2 separate regions of the Homo sapiens genome follow, and region 1 is linked to region 2. Evidence: promoter capture Hi-C in human tissues and cell types (Jung and others, 2019). All regions are on one chromosome and are shown on one strand. The core of a region is centred on a gene start or on the middle of the fragment in contact, and the rest is flanking DNA. Distances in the headings are between cores, read along the strand shown. Region 1 overlaps RAD54L2 (RAD54 like 2). Region 2 holds the start of C3orf18 (chromosome 3 open reading frame 18).

Region 1 (3,020 bases), core at 194-2,693, 1.0 Mb after region 2:
TCTCGGCTCACTGCAACCTCCGCCTCCCAGGTTCTAGCAATTCTCCTGCCTCAGCCTCCTGAGTAGCTGAGATTACAGGTGCCTGCCACCATGCCCAGCTAATTTTTGTATTTTTAGTAGAGACAGGGTTTCACCATTTTGGCCAGGCTGGTCTTGAACTCCTGACCTCAGGTGATTCACCTGCCTCGGCTTCCCAAAGTGCTGGGATTACAGGCGTGATCCACACCCGGCCTAAAGCTTTTCTTTTCCTCTCATGTTGAGCACTCTATGCAGTTTTCCTGAAAAATCCAAAACCTGCCTATTTCTTTAGTCTTGTCCTTGCTGCCATCCCGTAGTCATGGGCAGAGCAGCTAGCTATTCTACTAGTAAGAATAGCTATGAATAATCTAGTTTTAGTTGGTGTAGTGTGATGTGGCCCTTTTGTTTTCTTAGAGCAGTGGTTCTCAACCTGGTATGATTTTGCTTCTTAGGGAACAGTTTACAATGTGTGAAGACACTGGTTGTCAGGATTGTTGGGGGTGGGGTGGGGATGCTACTGTCATCTTGTGGATAGAGGCTGAGGATGCTATTAAACATCCTACAATGCATAGGAGAGCCCCTAGCTCACCCCAACAATTATCTGTCCCAAATGTCAATAGTACTGAGATCTGAGAAACCATTTCACAAAAGAAACTTACTTCAGCCCCTTTTTTTTTTTTTTTATGTTTTTTTGAGATGGAGTCTTGCTCTGTCGCCCAGGCTGGAGTGCAGTGGCGCGATCTCGGCTCACTGCAACCTCTTCCTCCCAGGTTTACGCCATTCTCCTGCCTCAGCCTCCTGAGTAGCTGGGACTACAGGCGCCCACCACCATGCGTGGCTAATTTTTTGTATTATTAGTAGAGACGGGGTCTCACCGTGTTAGCCAGAATGGTCTTGATCTCCTGACGTCGTGATCCGTCCGTCTCGGCCTCCCAAAGTGCTGGCATTACAGGCGTGAGCCACTGTGCCCGGCCACTTCAGCCCTTTTTATTTGAAGTTTCATCTCTACTGGATAACCACAGCTTACTTTTATATTGTTTGTCATAGTTTACACAAGCATGTGAACAATCTTATTCTTTTCAAAAAACTGTCTTTTGGGTTTGGTGTATTGTGTTTGTTTTCTTTGTAATTTCTACTTTCTAATTTTCTGTTTCTTTTGGGTTTATTTTGCCTTTCTTTTAGACTTCTTAGGAATGCGCGTAGCTTATTAATTTTCAGATGTTTTTCTACGTAAATATTTAAAGCTTTCTTTCAAACTTCTTAAGAATGTGCGTAGCTCATTAATTTTTAGATTTTTTTTCTATATAAGCATTTAAAGGTATAATTTTCCCTGTAAGCTTTAGCTCCATCCCCCCATAAGCATTTTGACACACTTTATCATACTTAATTGTCTTTCTTTTTTCTTTTTCTTTTTTTTTTTTTTTTTTTTTTGAGATGGAGTCTTGCTCTTTTGCCCAGGCTGGAGTGCAGTGGCATGATCTCAGCTCACTGCAACCTCCACCTCCTGAGTTCAAGCAGTTCTCCCACCTCAGCCTCCCGAGTAGTAGCTGGAATTACAGGCATGCACCACTATGCCTGGCTAAGTTTTTGTATTTAGTAGAGACAGAGTTTCACCATGTTGGCCAGGCTGGTCTCAAACTCCTGACTTCAGGTGATCCTCCTGCCTTGGCCTCCCAAAGTGCTGGGATTACAGGCATGAACCACTGTGCCCGGCCCATACTTAATTGTCTGGATAATCTTGTATGTTAGGTAGGGTAGATACATTTTACAGATGGGGAAACTGGGGCTCAGAAAGGTGAGTGGCTTACTCAGTATAACTTAGCAAGAAATTGGCAAAGCTGGACTTTTGGTCTTCAAGGCATTGCTCCTTTTTCAAACCAATGCTGCTTCTGAGACCATAGATTCTTATAATCGCCTTTCCTGTGATGTGTTTGCTTTCTTTCCTAGTTTCTGCTTTGAGGGAAGAAGGTGATTGTTAATTATTGTTGAGCAGAGGTGGAAGGACAGTTAGAAGTAACAGGAGGTATAAGGCAAAGTAGAAGGGAAAGTATGGCAAATGCTAAGGAATGATGAGCCGTCTTATTTGTTAATGCACTGGACACAAGAGGGGTAATCACCAGAGTGAGACTGGAGAGATGACCTATGGTTAGATCATGGAGTAGTTTAGAATTTGTTTTATAGGCAACATGGAATTGATGGGCGCTTTTTTTTTTTTTTTTTTTTTTTTTTTTTTTGACGGAGTCTCGCTCTGTCATCCAGGCTGGTGGCACAATCTTGGCTCACTGCAACCTTCACCTCCCAGGTTCAAGCGATTCTCCTGCCTCAGCCTCCTGAGTAGCTGGGACTACAGGCACGCGCCACCACATCCTGCTGATTTTTTGTATTTTCAGTAGAGACAGAGTTTTACCATGTTGGCCAGGCTGGTCTCAAACACATGAACTCAATTAATCCACACGCCTCAGCCTCCCAAAGTGCTGGGCTTACAGACATGAGCCACCGTGCCTGGCCGATGGGCCCTTTTACTGAGGAGCATCCATCAGACCTTTGACTTCAGGAATGGTACTCTAGCACTGTATCAAAGACATGGCCTGTAGACAGGGAGGATCAGTTAGGTCTGTAGTAGAACTCTATGGGAAAGGGTAATGAGGATTAGAACTGTTTGTGTCAGTCGATCACACAAGAGGAGTAAATGGTCAGACTTGTTGCACTGGATTTTATAGGACTTGGTGACTTACTGGATTTGTAGGGCAGATTGAAGAGGGATGGGTAAAAGCCCAGGAAGATCATGAGATCTTTTACAAAGGTGGGATGAACAGGATAGGGAGTGGATGGGGGAGTGAAAGATATTTTTGGCTTTGGTACAATAAGTCAGGCCATTGTTTCCTCCTTGATACTGACCTTTGTATGTTGAGTAGTGGGATAGTAGTGCAAGAACTGGTTATTATAGAACACGGAGGTTTGGCTGTTGGAGAACAGCACCATGACTTTGTCTTCAAACCAAC
Region 2 (3,015 bases), core at 442-2,941:
ATCCTCTGTCTGTGGGTGAGATGATCATAGTGATCAAACCTGGAAGATATGAAAGGCAGCGGGGATGTTTGAAAGAAAAAGTCTCCCTCCCCTGATCAAAAACTCCCCTCAACCTGCGTCCCCATATCCCCCACCTCCCCATATCCACCTCCTCATTCCCTGCCTCCCACATCCCTCATCCTGCTTGGGGGAAAAAATACCACAGCTTTTTCCTTTCCTGGAGGGAAACACTTGCCCAAGAGTCAGACAGGCCTGTCTTTGAAACCTAGCTCAGCTGCTTAACTAGTGATCCCTAGAAAGTCACTCCACCTCTCTGTGTCTCCGTTTTCCTGAGTCTAAGGTGGGGATATTGAGAACATCCCCACAGGGTCATGGGGTTACAGAAATGGCAGAACAAACAGGTGTCGAAGAAAGACTTAGCTCAGCACAACCCCCATCCACAGTAAGCATCCACTACATGTTAGATTTTCTCCCCATGGCCAACCCAGTCACAAAGGGGAGCCAAGGGAGCCCCTGGACCCAGTCCACTGTATGGTCCAGACTATGCTTGGAGTGTGGGTGGAGGCTGATGTGGAAAGACCAGAAGACAAGAAGGAGAGAGAGGCTCTGGTTCTCTGGCGGGGCTTCTCCGCAGGCTCTCGGGGACATTGGACTGCCCTCCCCACCCACCAACAATAGAGGGGCTGCTAGGGTCAAGGAGAAAGGCGAGGCAGGAATGGAGCTCCCAGTGTGGGTGCCTTCTCTTCCTTTACCCTCCTCCCCTGGAAGCAGAGGGTGAGAGATTTGCCCAGTGCAGAGGGCCCTGGTTAAGGTGGGGTGGGAAGAGGTGCCAGCCAAGCTGCAGATGGGACGGCCTAGGGAGAGGAGGGATACCTAGCTCGTGGGTGCATACATCCCCCTGTGCTGGTTCATGGGCATTAGTGGGGTTGCCTCCCTGTGCAGATGCATGGGCGTGTGTGAGATGTGTAAACACCTCTGATGGTCCCTGAGGAAGGGGCAAGGCTGGCAGAGGGTTATGGGGTAGAAAGGCTCATCCCTCTTTGCCTTCTCCCTCCAGCTAGGCTGGGCACATCTGGGCACATAGGAAGTCCCGGGTTCTTTTCTTGGCTTTGCAACTGATCCCGGGCGTGACCTTGGGCCAAACCCTTAACTCGTGCCCTGGGGCTCTGTTAACATCGCCTCCCAAAGGAGAGAAGAGGCCCTACTGACCACTTTCCAGGCCTGCCTCAGGGTCCAAAGGGGAAGGGAAGGAAACCGGGGTAAAAGGGGTCGGCACCGCGACCTTCGAGAACCCGCATGCTGTTCTCCACCAGGTCTCTCAGTCCTCCCTGCCCCAATCCCCATGCCCGCCTCCGCGACCCTGTGATGCCTCCCTTCTTGCACAGGAGCAGTGACCTCAGCACTTACTTAATCCTCTCCCGGCGCCGAGCTCAGTTGGAGAGGCTAGGGGTGGTAGTGACTGGCAGGAGGCCGGGGCGGGGGGAACCCCCAAGCCCGGCGTCTGGGGCTGCGGGTCCGACCCGAGATCCGCCCTCCCTGCAAGCCCCGAGCCGCTGGCCAGGCCCGCTACTGCGCACCAGCCGCATCCGCGAGCGCTGGCTCTGCCGGCCTGAGCTAGGGTGGGTAGGGCCGGGACCCACGGCGGAGGTGGGGCCGGGCCGAGCAGCCTCGGGGGATCCCCGAAGCTACAGCGCCTTGCCTCCCTGCACGCTCCGCGCCCCCGGCCTCCGATTGGCTGTCGGGCCTAGAGCCCGCCCAGAATTGGACCGTTCGCTTGTCGCTCGGGTCTGGCTCCACCCCCAGAGGGAGCCTAGAACCTGGTCGCAGTTTTTAGAGACTACCCTCACCCCGTGGCCTGCGCCGAAGTTGGGCGGAGGACAGTGGGTGGCCAGGCCCTTCCGGGCCAGAACTCGGGACCCCTGCCAGCTACCCGTGCCAGGACAGACTCAAGCCCCCAAAACGCGGATGGATGTACAGAGGAGACTTGGGGAGAGCACTGGACTGGGAGTCCTTGGGCCTGCACTGAACTCTGGCTGACTTTGTGACCTTGAAGAAACTGCTTTTCCCTTCCTGAACCTTGGCTTTCTACTCAGACGGGTCCTCTGGTGTGAGGGTTCTAGACGAAGATGGGGAATCTTCGTCTACAGAAGTTGAGAGTGGGGTGGATTTATTATTGGGCACCCCGACCCAGGCAAGTCTACATATACCCTCACAATAGCTTCCATCCACGGCATGATCAGCTCAGGGAAGGAGCCCTCAGATACTCCTGATCCGCCGGTTTTCAAAGTAGTTTATGGGAGTCACCGGGTAGCCTGGTACAAATGCAAACGCCCCTGTGTCTCCCGGTCTGGGAAGGAGGCAGGGAAACAGCATGTTTAATAGCAGTTTAAGGCCGGGCGTGGTGGCTCACTCCTGTAATCCCAGCACTTTGAGAGGCCGAGGCGATGGATCACCTGAAGTCAGGAGTTCGAGACCAGCCTGACCAACATGGTGAAACCCTGTCTCTATTAAAAATACAGAATTAGCCGGTCGTGTTGGCTCACGCCTGTAATCCCAGCTACTTGGGAGGCTGAGGCAGGAGAATGGCTTGAACCCGGAGGCCGAGGTTGCAGTGAGCAGAGATCGCGCCATTGTACTTCAGCCTGCGCAACAAGAGCAAAACTCCGTCTCAAAAAAAAAAAAAAAAAAAAAGAAAAAAAGAAAAAAAAAGTAGTTAACAGTGTTCTAGTTAACAGTACTTTCTGGTGGGGAGATGTTGACAAGACACACTTTGCGAGACGCTGCCGAGTATTTTATAGAAGGCGCAACTGAGGTCCAGAGGTCCCAACACCTGGAGGAGTTGCCAATAGAGTCAAGATTCGAATCGGTAAAAGAGCGGCCCCTGGGGTCTGGCCGCCAGTCGGCCGACCCCCTGGTGGGCTCGGGCCACTGACCTCGGTAGGGTCACGACACTGGGACTGGACCCCAAAGTTGGACCAGCCTTCAACACTGGAACCCGCCCATGCACAGCTCCAC

What was found. Contacts are between HindIII fragments. The study calls those that stand out against the background at their distance.
Region 1: a fragment that was not itself captured here is called in contact with the fragment with the promoter of C3orf18 in region 2 in 1 of the 25 tissues and cell types used here (stomach).

The regions. Positions count from the first base shown.
Region 1 is chr3:51,592,640-51,595,659 of GRCh38, forward strand. All of the region lies in intron 3 of RAD54L2 (RAD54 like 2), which reads left to right. Among named protein-coding and RNA genes, the nearest start is that of RAD54L2, 55 kb to the left of the region's middle. RefSeq lists a silencer at 832-1,035. The HindIII fragment of the contact is 4,263 bases long and covers 1-3,020 here.
Region 2 is chr3:50,566,056-50,569,070 of GRCh38, forward strand. It overlaps C3orf18 (chromosome 3 open reading frame 18), which reads right to left and starts at 1,692. Exons shown (of 6, transcript NM_016210.5): 1 at 1,408-1,692; 2 at 1-39. RefSeq lists a silencer at 1,324-1,833. The HindIII fragment of the contact is 29,907 bases long and covers 1-3,015 here.